Linked DNA regions of Homo sapiens: all the other regions are linked to region 3. Evidence: promoter capture Hi-C in human tissues and cell types (Jung and others, 2019). All regions are on one chromosome and are shown on one strand. The core of a region is centred on a gene start or on the middle of the fragment in contact, and the rest is flanking DNA. Distances in the headings are between cores, read along the strand shown. Region 1 overlaps EIF4A2 (eukaryotic translation initiation factor 4A2). Region 2 holds the start of ADIPOQ (adiponectin, C1Q and collagen domain containing). Region 3 holds the start of AHSG (alpha 2-HS glycoprotein).

Evidence for each region. Contacts are between HindIII fragments. The study calls those that stand out against the background at their distance.
Region 1: a fragment that was not itself captured here is called in contact with the fragment with the promoter of AHSG in region 3 in 2 of the 25 tissues and cell types used here (aorta and hippocampus).
Region 2: the fragment with the promoter of ADIPOQ here is called in contact with the fragment with the promoter of AHSG in region 3 in 1 of the 25 tissues and cell types used here (stomach).

The regions. Positions count from the first base shown.
Region 1 is chr3:186,786,240-186,790,467 of GRCh38, reverse strand. It overlaps EIF4A2 (eukaryotic translation initiation factor 4A2), which reads right to left. Exons shown (of 11, transcript NM_001967.4): 6 at 4,195-4,228; 7 at 3,823-3,966; 8 at 3,204-3,341; 9 at 2,884-2,973; 10 at 2,586-2,665; 11 at 571-1,343. The coding sequence ends at 1,199. RFC4 (replication factor C subunit 4) reads left to right here. Exons shown (of 11, transcript NM_002916.5): 9 at 62-142; 10 at 213-326; 11 at 404-568. The coding sequence ends at 499. It overlaps SNORA63B (small nucleolar RNA, H/ACA box 63B), which reads right to left and starts at 4,145; the gene lies at 4,021-4,145. It overlaps MIR1248 (microRNA 1248), which reads right to left and starts at 3,796; the gene lies at 3,691-3,796. It also overlaps SNORA81, SNORA63 and SNORA4. The HindIII fragment of the contact is 9,961 bases long and covers 1-4,228 here.
Region 2 is chr3:186,840,510-186,844,357 of GRCh38, reverse strand. ADIPOQ (adiponectin, C1Q and collagen domain containing) reads right to left here and starts at 1,648. Exons shown (of 3, transcript NM_004797.4): 1 at 1,609-1,648. RefSeq lists an enhancer at 1-1,608, a cis regulatory region at 2,197-2,224 and a promoter at 1,626-2,324. The HindIII fragment of the contact is 4,509 bases long and covers 1-3,848 here.
Region 3 is chr3:186,610,738-186,614,435 of GRCh38, reverse strand. AHSG (alpha 2-HS glycoprotein) reads right to left here and starts at 1,376. Exons shown (of 7, transcript NM_001622.4): 1 at 1,082-1,376. The coding sequence starts at 1,294. The HindIII fragment of the contact is 10,895 bases long and covers 1-3,698 here.

The DNA of each region.
Region 1 (4,228 bases), core at 1-2,500, 180 kb before region 3:
GCAGAGTGTATGTCTAGTCTCACCTAGAAACATCTTTAATACCGAACATTCAATTACCTAGGTAATACCAGCTGAGAAAATTGATGGAGTATTTGCTGCCTGTCAGAGTGGCTCTTTTGACAAACTAGAAGCTGTGGTCAAGGTAAAGTCAGCTTACTAACTTTGGGGAAAGGAATATTAAGTCATCATACCAAAAGTTTTTTTTATTATAGGATTTAATAGATGAGGGTCATGCAGCAACTCAGCTCGTCAATCAACTCCATGATGTGGTTGTAGAAAATAACTTATCTGATAAACAGAAGTCTATTATCACAGAAAAACTTGCCGTAAGTAGGTACTTTGCACATGTCAATGGAACATTTAACTACCTGAAGGATGCTAATTTCTTAAATTTTTCTCGTAGGAAGTTGACAAATGCCTAGCAGATGGTGCTGATGAACATTTGCAACTCATCAGCCTTTGTGCAACTGTGATGCAGCAGTTATCTCAGAATTGTTAACGTGAATATATCTGGATGGGGGGTTTTGTAAATAATGAAGTTGTAATAAAAATAAAATGACCAAAAGCACCTTTAAAGTGAATATACAATTTATTTAACATTCAAACTTCATTAAGACATGTGCAATATGGCAATTTTACTGGGGATTAAACCCTACCTAGGATTGCTTGCTGGGGCTTAGCAACAGGGTCCAGTTCACACTTAGCACTAATTAAATACTTTATTGAATAAATACAATACCAAACAAAATGCATTCAAATGCTTTCTAAAAAAATTTTAAAGGCCTTTCTACTCAGGCTAATGACAAACACAATAAAGGCAGATATGCTAGTTTAACATAATTGGCTGATTTTATACAGCACTTATATCTTTTAGTCCACAAGTATATTATTAAATGATAGAGAACATCTAATACAACCATTTCTACAGAACTAGGAAATAAATTTCTAAGAAAGAAAGATTTTACAGACCCCATCTTTTATACCCACCCCAACAGTCTAACTCTAAAGAGGATAAAGCCAATGACTTTCCTCACAAGAGCTCACGACTAACGTCGCTTTGCTATCAAAATCTGTATTTCTGATCCGTTATGAGCATTGAGACAAGATTCAAATATTCCCAAAGAAAGAAGCACAATGCACGTTGTGATCGCCTATTCAGCAACAGCGAGCACTGCATCCAAAACTCTCATCCCAGGAATTAAATAAGGTCAGCCACATTCATGGGCATCTCCTCCACTGTAGTATTGTAGAAAGTCTCAATGTCACGAAGAATCCTCTTGTCTTCTTCAGTAACAAAGTTTATAGCCACACCTTTCCTCCCAAATCGACCCCCTCTGCCAATTCTGTGTAAGAAAAAGAATCAGAACGTTACTTCTCACATAATGTATAAACTACTGAACATGACGATCCACTTGTTAACCACCAGCTGCTGTTTACTTATCAAGGTTATAGTTCGTGCTTCTAACTGGAGCACTAGCTGCTAATGCATATCTAGAGAAAAAAATCTTCCTTTGCAGTTAGTGCCAAAAGGATTCAAGGCTTGTCTGGCTGCAAAATGAGATTTTTATCAGGCATCTTGAGCATTATTATAAAGCAGATGACAGTATCGTGTTTGGGGTAGTGAAATTAAAGCCCATACCAAAGTGGGCCAGCCAAGAGCAGGTGTCAGCCTGGGACAGATGTGAACACCAGGAATAAAAGAGCAGTTATGTAATCCATTTCGACGCACTTCTGGAACTGTAAACTGTAAACAAATGCTGCAAAGGTTAACTATTTTCTAAAACTTACTTTTTTCCAGTGGGAAAACAAATATTTGGTATGGTAACCCAAACTTATCACTGCTTTTTTGCTCAGTTTCACACGTTGTAACTCAAATTACTCTAAACGTGTTTAACTGCCAAACAGCTACCTGCATGTTAGAAACCAGACAATACAAACCACCTAATAAGAAAGGTTCCCTAATAGAAATACTAATACAAAAAAATGCCTTAGCTGGAGCAACTTAAAAATCAAATAATCATGACAAAAGAAAAACAAATATAAATACCGACTCGCTCTTTATTCAAACAGTGTGCTGTTTCGCTTATGATTCCACGTCCTAAATTACGTCAACGCCGTTTCTGAGTGCCATCTCGTCACCAACTGCTGCTATCGACTCCTGTATTTTTTAAAAAGTCTTTTTTTACATCATATAACAAAGTACAATTCAATTTATTTAGGGATAAAGCCACTATAACTAAACCAGGGTTCACTCAAATTGCTACCAGGCGACACCAAGAAAATCCCAACTATAGAAAAAATCACCAAGAAAAACACATGGACACAAGAACATCACTAAAAGCTCAAGCATAAGGTAAGACCAACAATTGTGGAAAAAAACCCTATGTCCACAATCTGGGCAATGTTTACAAGTTTTCCCACTTTGTTCTCATCAACCTTCCCTAGTACAAATTTAATTACATCATCTTACTGAACACTACTGACTTTACTGAATCTATTCCTTGATTTGATGTTACCTTTCATACAAATCACAGTAGAAAAACGTATGAATTTTTTTCAATACAGCCAAGATGCTGGCTTCTCACCTGTGAATATAGTTTTCACGATTGGTAGGTAGATCATAATTTATAACCAAAGACACTTGTTGCACATCAATCCCGCGAGCCTGAAACACAATGGCATGTTTTAAAAATTGATTCAAAAAAACTTGACACCTGTCATGTAGGCCACAAAATAGTAGCGAACTATACTAAGTGGTATAGCCCACTGTGGAGTGTGGTCTTTTACTCTTCCAAATAGCCCAAGTTGGCAAAGGTTACTTAAAAACCTGCCCCCCAAAAAGCTAACTTTTGGTAGATTTTTAAAAAGCATTAAGAGACTTACCAACAAGTCAGTAGTGATCAGAACACGACTTGACCCTGACCGGAATTCCCTCATGATAACATCTCTCTCCTTCTGGTCCATGTCACCATGCTGCAAATTAATAAACCTTAATTCAAGAATCACCAGTCAGGTCGGTATTTAATTTTAATCAACATGTATGAGACCAAGCGTCCCTGGCTGCTACAGGAGAATAGCAGACAGGTATAGTTAAGAAACAACTTTATTTTAAGCAGGGGGAACGACAACACAGCACTTAGCAGCTATATTGTAGTCTGAATCCTGCTTTAGTGGAAATCCAGACATTTTAGAACACCTCTTACCAGAGCAGAAACTGTGAAGTCTCTGGCATGCATCTTCTCAGTCAGCCAGTCCACCTTGCGCCTCGTATTGAGAAAAATAACAGCCTGTGTAATGGTCAGTGTCTCGTACAAGTCACAAAGTGTATCCAACTTCCATTCCTGTAATGTTTAGAAGTTAAAGTTAACAGTCATTTAGTTTTTCCAACTCTTCAGTTAAAAATTCATTCTGGGCCAGCCACAGTGCTAATGCCTGTAATCCCAGCCCTTTGGGATCCTAGCACTTAGAGCCCAGAGTTCCAACCAGACCAGGGTTTCAAGAAAGTGAAACTGTCTCTACCCAAAATACCAAAATTGGCCAGTCTTAGCCAGTCTCATAACCCAGTCTCAAAACGTAGAAATTATAAAAATTAACTTCATTCTGTTAGGTCTAATGAGATATTGCACCAAATCTTAAGACAAAGGACATTGGACATTAAGAAAGAGGTCCACCCCAGTCTTTACAATCTAGTGCTGTTACTTTTCTTCTTGTGTGTACTCTGCTAGCATTATTGCAAAAACCAAGACATGGTCCTAGTGTCTGCAATTTTAGCACAGTGCTTATACAAGAAGGTAAAATAATGTCTAACAATCAGACAGTTACCTCTCTCTCAACATTAATATAAAACTGTTTGATTCCTTCAAGGGTCAATTCTTCCTTTTTCACCAGAATTCGAATTGGATCTCTCATGAATTTTTTGGTCACTTCCAACACATCAGTTGGCATTGTGGCAGAAAGCAACACAACCTTAAAAAGAGAAAATTATGTTGTAGCACAACTTACACATTAATACCCAAAGGAAAATGTCTGAAGCCAAGCGTCTCTGTCTTACTACGGAATGAAGGTAGACAGAGTTATGCATCAAGTGCTTTAAGCAGGGGGAACGACAACAAAACACATCAGTTGTATTGTAACAGTACCTGCATTAAATAAACCCCATCTCTACCTTTAAGAGGGGGGTGAAGTAATGCTTACCTGAATACTTGTGTTTAGTTTTTGGAAAATCTCA
Region 2 (3,848 bases), core at 399-2,898, 230 kb before region 3:
CTGGCCAATATGGTGAACCCCATCTCTACTAAAAATATAAAAATTAGCTGGGCGTGGTGGCGCATGCCTGTAGTCTCAGCTACTTGGGAGACTGAGGCAGGAGAATCGCTTGAACCTGGGAGGCGGAGGTTGCAGTGAGCTGAGATTGTGCCAAAAAAAGACTCCTCAAGACTTAAGGAAGAGTGGCAGCAGGGACTGCTGAGGAAGCTGCCGGGCTCCCTGTGTACCACTGGCCTTCATGAACAAAGCTGACACCATCATGCTCCTTCGGACATATTCTGCTAGCATAAAGGGACCCCCATCTCCCCAACCGAATTAGGCAGAGCTGGCCTTCCTTCTAGCGGAGTTCCTAGGAGTGAGTTGGTGCCACCCCTTGTGAGGCTTGATCCAAAAACCAGAACCTCTCCAGACCAGGGATCCATGTCCTCTAACACAAGAGGGGCAGACCTAACCTCTAAAATCCCTCCCACTCTAACCTTCAGCATCCACAGCTCAAAACAACCAGGATGCCTCAGAAACAGCACTCACTGGGGCGAGCAGGATTAGGCTTCAGAAAAACCAGGTAGATCCAGTTTCTTCTGTCAGAAAATGTTTTTTTTTAATTACAATTTTTCATAAGTTGCCACTATATGCCAGGCTTTTCTCATTTTATCTCATTAGAGCCTCTTTTTCTTTTCTTTCTTTTTTTTTTTTTTTTGACACAAAGTCTCGCTCTGTCACCCAGGCTGGAATGCAGTGGCAACAATCTCGGCTCACTGCAACCTCTGCCTCCCAGGTTCAGACAATTCTCCTGCCTCAGCCTCCCGAGAAGCTGGGATTACAGGCACCTGCCATCACGCCCAACTAATTTTTGTATTTTTGGTAGAGGCGGGGTTTCACCATGTTGGTCAGGCTAGTCTGGAACTCCTGACCTCAGGTGATCCACCCGCCTCGGTCTCCCAAATTGCTGGGATTACAGGTGTGAGCCACCATGGCTGGCCTCATTAGAACCTCTTGATTACCTTGTAAGATATCCCTATACCTACATATATCCCCAAATCCATAGACAACAACCATGTCACACTCATTGTATCTTGTGAACCCAATCCACTGTCTAGCCCATAGAATTTGCTCAGTAAATATTTGCTGAGTAGAATAAAGTGGCAGAGCTGGATTCCTAATTCCAGTCTGAAGTCAGTGCTCAGCTTGACTTTTCTGAAGCTGCCTTCATATATGCTTCTTCCTTTGCCCTACCTGGTCAAGCTAAGAGGCAATGTATTCCCTTATCCCCCTTAATCGAATTGGACTTCATCTGTGGACAGACCCTTCCACCTTACTGACCCTAACTTTTTCTCAATAGGTATCCTGCTACAGAGCGAACTGGGCAAAATTCAGAATGGTTCCATGCATCTTAGAAGGAATGTCTGAAATAACCCTTTCTCTCTTGGGGCTGTGGGAGAACGGAGGAAGAAGCCCAGTGCATATCTGCCTCCACCAGTGCTGCTCTGACCAGAGTATCCACCTGTATCCACTCCCACACTACTACGGACGGGAGAGCCTGGGTGATCCCAGCCAGAGGCTATGCATGCATCCCCCACCCAGCCTGGAACTTCACAGAATTGCTCTTACCCTCTGGTATGGAATCAGAACCACAGACTGCAGTCAGAATGGAAGTGAGGAGGAGATGGCCCAGCCTCAACAGCCTGGTACTCACGGGGGCAGGCAGTCCCCACCTCACAATTGTCATTTCCCATTGGCCAACTCAGTGAGGGCCAGAGGCCGGTGGGCAGGCACATGTCCCTGGCAGTTGCCCACAGCCTGCACCCTAGGGAACCTGGTACAACCCAGCTTGGGCTTCGGAAGCCAAGTGGAGCTTCAGTCAAAGCACTTGTGTTTCCAGGCCTTGACCCTTATTTTGCCTCCTACAACAGCAACAGAAGATGGGGCAAAAGTCAAAACCACAGCAGGAAAACAAGATTTTTTTCCTGCATCTGACGGAGAAACTTCCTAATGTAAATGAATTAATTGCTCAGTGGTCCAGGAGGTCTCCCCCTCCCATAGATTTGCCCTAATAAGTCAGGGACGCCAATTATCACACCACAGTCTTGCTCACTGTGCATGATTAAGTCTGAGACTGTGTACGTTCAGACAGTGAGTGCTTCAGAAGGGAGCACTGTCAGAGGGGTCTGCAATCAGGTAAGAAATAGAGCACATCCTCCACTCTCTGACCTGGACCCTGGATTTAGGAAAGACCTTGCACATGAATTCTGAGAACTGGGGTGTGGGGAAGTTCCTGGAGTGGTGTGGGGCTTGGCAAGTTAAAAAGGCCCTGAATTCTTAAAGCTTGTGGCCTCGAATCGTAATTTGAATCTAATATAATAGAAAACTTACATAAAATGTGATATTGGAATACCATCTTTCAAGATTTTTTGGTTCCAAAATTTCGGATAACATTTTGACAGCTACCTTGGTATGTGTGTGTGTGTGTTTGTGAGAGAGAGAGAGCCTGTTTTTCCAGTTCCTTAAGCATATATATGCCTATTCTGTCTCTTGTGGAACCCAGCTCTGGCCTAGAAGCAGCCTGGAGAACTGGAAGCTGCCACCCACTTAGGTGTTCCTAGAAAGTTTAGGCTTGAAGTGGCAACATTCAACACCTTGGACTTTCTTGGCACGCTCATGTTTTGTTTTTGAAGGGCAGGATCTGAGCCGGTTCTTGCAAGCCACACATTCTGATGAATTAAATTACGACCCCAGCAAGGGCTTAGGATGCCAGCACCAACTTCAACAAGACATCCAAAACAGAATTTTCTCAGACAGAGGCAGGGCAAGTGTCTGCCTGCCCCCCAGATATCATCTCCACAGTCCACACAGAGCCTAAAAATCTACCAGTAAAGTCAAGTCCACCATTAAAGTAAAGATCTGATGTAAAGCCTCAGCTTCCTGCTAATGTCCAAATATTTCAAGAGAAGTCACATTAGGCCGTTGAGATGAGAGACATGAGAGACTTTCCAAGGTCCCCCGGCTTAAATAAGTGGCCCATGAAAATGAGGTTCCATATAGTTTAGCAGGCTGATTGAACCAAGAAGACAACAAAAAGAAATAGAAGCAACTCTCAATTATATCACTGTTTGATTTTTGTTATGGTGTTTTCCTATTTATTTTTGGTTTATGTTACTGTCTGTTGCTATTTAATAGAACATAAACTTCAGGTCAGGTGCAGTGGCTCAGGCCTGTAATCCCAGTACTTTGGAAGGCCAAGACAGGCATATCACCTGAGATCAGGAGTTTGAGACCAGTCTGGCCAACATGGTGAAACCCCATCTCTACTAAAAATGCAGAAATAGCCGGGCGTGGTGGCACATACCTGTAGTCCCAGCTACTTGGGAGGCTGAGACAAGAGAATCACTTGAACCCAGGAGGTGGAGGTTGCAGTGAGCCAAGAGCACCATTGCGCTCTAGCCTGGGTGACAAGAGTGAAACTCTGTCTCAAAAAAAAAAAAAAAAGTAAACTTCAGGAGAGCAGAGATTTTGCCTATTCAAAGTTGTATCCCTTAGTTCCTAGAATAGAACCTGGCACAAAGTAGGCAATAATAAATGTTGAATTAATGAATAAATGAATGATCATATTCAACTTTCCTTTGGAGATAACTATTATTGTCTTTCATTTTACAAATAATGAATCTAGAGTTCAATGAGGGTAAATAATTTGTTCAAGGCACAAGTCTAGGATTTGAACCAGATCTGTCTAACTAAAAATCCCTATGCTTTCTAATTCCTCATGCCCTTCACCCCTCTTGATGGAGTGTGAGGCCTCAAGGTTGATGTATGTGCTTCAGGGTAGTTTCAGGGCTGGCATAAAAAGTATTTTC
Region 3 (3,698 bases), core at 127-2,626:
TTATTTTCCAACCTAGATTGTAAGCTCTTGTGGGCACATATTGTGCCTTTTTCACCACTGTATTAGGTTGAACCATTAAAACGGCCAATATTTGGTTGCTTTTGATATAGAAAAATGGCAGTTTTATATGGTTCAACCTAATATCTCTGGTTCTTGTCCAAGGAAGGCTTGTAATACATATTTGCTGAAAGAATTGTCCTTAATCAGAAATAAATCTAATTTCAAAACAGGCAGTAGGCAGACAGCTTCTTTCCACCTCTCCAAATCTCTTGACTGATCCCCGAGGCATATTTCCAGCTTGATTTTTCTTGTCACTGGCTTCAAGCTGCGTTGGTTTCCTGTCTAGTGTGTGAGGAGGTGAATTGTGTTTATGCCAAGACTTCTCTCTGGGATGTGGGTAACTCTCTTTGGGAGGCAGTTTGTGTAGAAGAAGGAACACAGATATGGAATCAAATCCCAGCCTGAAGACTTAGTAATTATATGATTTTGGACCAAAAAAAAAAAGACAAAAACAAAAAACAAAAAAACTGCACACACACACACAACAGAGCCTTGGTCTCCTCTTGGGTAAGACAAGAACAATATATGTACCACACAGCACCAGGAGGCAGGACCGGGAAAGAGTAAATGAGATAATCTATGTGAATGGGCCTGGCATATAGTAGGCATCTGCCAGATGCTAGTTTTATTCATTCTCAGTCTTTGTTAGAGAGAAACCAAACCAAAGACAGATACGTGATTTTCAGCCAGTGGTAACTTGGCAACTAGGAGCTGGTCTCTTGGGTCCTAGTTTTTCCAGCAAGTTACACTTTCTGTCTGTGATCTGCACACTACCATTTGAAGCACTTTTTCTCCTGCACACCACCTCACACCCCACCCAGCTCCCTCCTGACACCCATGACTGCCATACAGAATGTCTCCTCTCCTGCCCTCTGCCTGCCCCTTCCCTCACTCCTGGGAAGAAATCAGAGAATTTACTCCTCTGTGGTTTCATTTGCACTGGGTGATGGTGATTTTTTGAGGCACCTGATTGAGCTCCATGTACACATTATTTCAGCTCATAGACAGCAGGTCCACTTACCTGAGGCCACACCTTTACTTCATCAATCTGGTTCAAGGTGTGTTTGTATCCCCAAGGAAGGTTTTGATTGATGTAGTCTATAGCCACCAGAGCTGCTTCCTCAGTTTCTGGATCATCGCAGTTCGGTTGTCTATAAATCAGCCCTGGGCCATGTGGGGCTGAGTGGCAGCCCCAGAGCTGAGCAAGACAAAGGAGCAGGACGAGGGACTTCATGGCTGCCCCAGAGAGGCCCTGGCAGGCGTGCAGGTGGTTGGAGGCTTCGGGACCAACCCAGGTGCTCTGCTGGGAAAGGTAGACCCATGGAGGGTGGTGGGCTTTATTTATCTGTTGGAGCCTGCCGGAAGAATTGCATAAGGATACAGGATGATTTCTGCTTTGGTTCAAAAGAAAAAAAAAAACACCCTGCAAACATCAGCCCTGGAAAAGCAAACAGGTTAGGACATCGCTGGTCCCCAAGAAATCTGCCAAAGTCCATGCTGCTGTGGGGGAGATGCTCCAAAGTCTGCTTGGAACATGGTAATAGCAGCAAAGAGAAGACAGCTGAGGGAATGAGGTGGACACAGTCAGCCTCAGAGTGCCATGGGTTTGGCAGCAGAGGAAATGTCTTCTACTGTGATCTGAGCATGCCATGGGGTCTGTGAGAGGGAAGGGAGGATACTCAGCAATTTGATAAAATTCTCCAATGTCAGGGGGAGTTAGCTTTCCAAGAGGAGTCCTACAGGGAGAACAAGGCCCACAGATATAGCAAAGGTACAGATGTGTATAGGAGATGCCAAGATTTTGGGGGAAGATTCTTGGAGAAAAGAAAAAGGATGAGAGATGTTTCTGCCTAAAGTGGGGAATGGAGGTGGAAGAAGGGGGTTCCCGTGGCAGGACCACGGTGGGAAATGACCAGCAAAACGTGTGGGGTTCCCTGCCCCTTCTCTTCCTTCTCCAGACCTCACTGCCAGGGCCCTGCATGTGACAGCACAGATGGGCACTGACCAGAGTCTCCTAGCACTAGTAACCTAGTGCCCCTGCCAGTGCACAAGGGCAGCAGAGGGGAGTCCTGACTCATTTGACACAGCTCTGGGTTCGAGTCTGACACCGCAGGCTGAGATGCTGCACGAGCAGCTACGGACACAAATACCCCTTGAACATTCTTTGCAGACTCAGCAGAATTACAGTGTGTCTTTCTGGCCAGAACAGAGGGCCAGTGTTGACTCCAGGCACTGCCTATTAAGTGACCCTTGACAATTCCAAGTGTGACATCCAAGGAGGGTTGGCAGGATAAAGAGAGGCTTGGGAAATATCACACAAGGACCTGGTTTGGTTTAGTCTGAAGCAAAGAAGCCCTCTCATGGAGACCAACATGGTCTTCAAATATTTAGAGGCCATCATTGTGTGTGGGTGAATTTGTTCTAATGTTTGATATTGCTTCAGAGAAAAAAAAACTGGTTAAAAAAAAAAGAAAGAAGAGGGGCCCCTCCAAAGGGAAGCTTAATATTGATTTTCTGGGGTGAGAATCGGGGTGAGGGAGGTGAAGTGAGTGGTGATGGGGCAGAGAAGGTAGTTGGCAGGACTGTTCTCACATTTACTCCCAGCTGCTCACACACCACACCGAATCTTAATGTCAGAAGCTCAGAAGGTGTGGCCAGGACTCCAGGTTCTCTCCAAGAGGGGGACCATGATTCTTCCAGATGAAAAACAAACTCTGGTCATCCAGCAAGATGATCCTCAAAGCCAGGGGCAATCTTCCATCACCTTATACTCCATTTCACTCAGGGCCCTGACTCCTGAACTGTGTGTGGAAGCTATGCTTTTCTTTATATAATCTTTAAAAATATTGAAGGGCTGGGCACGGTGGTTCACACCTGTAATTCCAGCACTTTGGGAGGCTGAGGTGGGCAGATCACGAGGCCTAGAGATTGAGCCCAACCTGACCAACACAGTGAAACCCTGTCTCTTCTAAAAATACAAAAATTAGCTGGGCGTGGTGGCGCGCGCCTGTAGTCCCACCTACTCGGGAGGCCGAGACAGGAGAATCACTTGAACCCAGGAGGTGGAGGTTGCAGTGAGCCAAGATTGCGCCACTGCACTCCAGCCTGGCAACGGAGTGGGACTCCGACTCAAAAAAAAGAAAAATTGAATAAAGTGTGGTAAGGTGGCACACACCTGTAATCCCAACTATGAAGGCAGGATGATAGCATAAGACCTGGAGTAGGCTATGGTTGCAGTGAGCTATGATAGTGCCACTGCACTCCAGCCCAGCCAACAGAATGAGACTCTGTCTCAAAAAAGAAATCATTCACAATCTCATCATGCAGAGATAAACAGTGTTAATGTTTTGATGCATTTATATCTTTTCTTTTTTTCTATGTAAAATAATATTTTAATATAATTTTGATTATACTGCATATACAGCTGTTAAAATTTTTTCACCTATTGCTTTAACTTGAATATTTTCCTATGTCATTAAGTAGACTTAAAAACATGTTTACAGGCCAGGCACGGTGGCTTACACCTGTAATCCCAGCACTTTGGGAGGCCAAGGCAGGTGGATCATGAGGTCAACAGATAGAGAGCATCCTGGCCAACATGGTGAAACCCCATCTCTACTAAAAATACAAAAAATTGG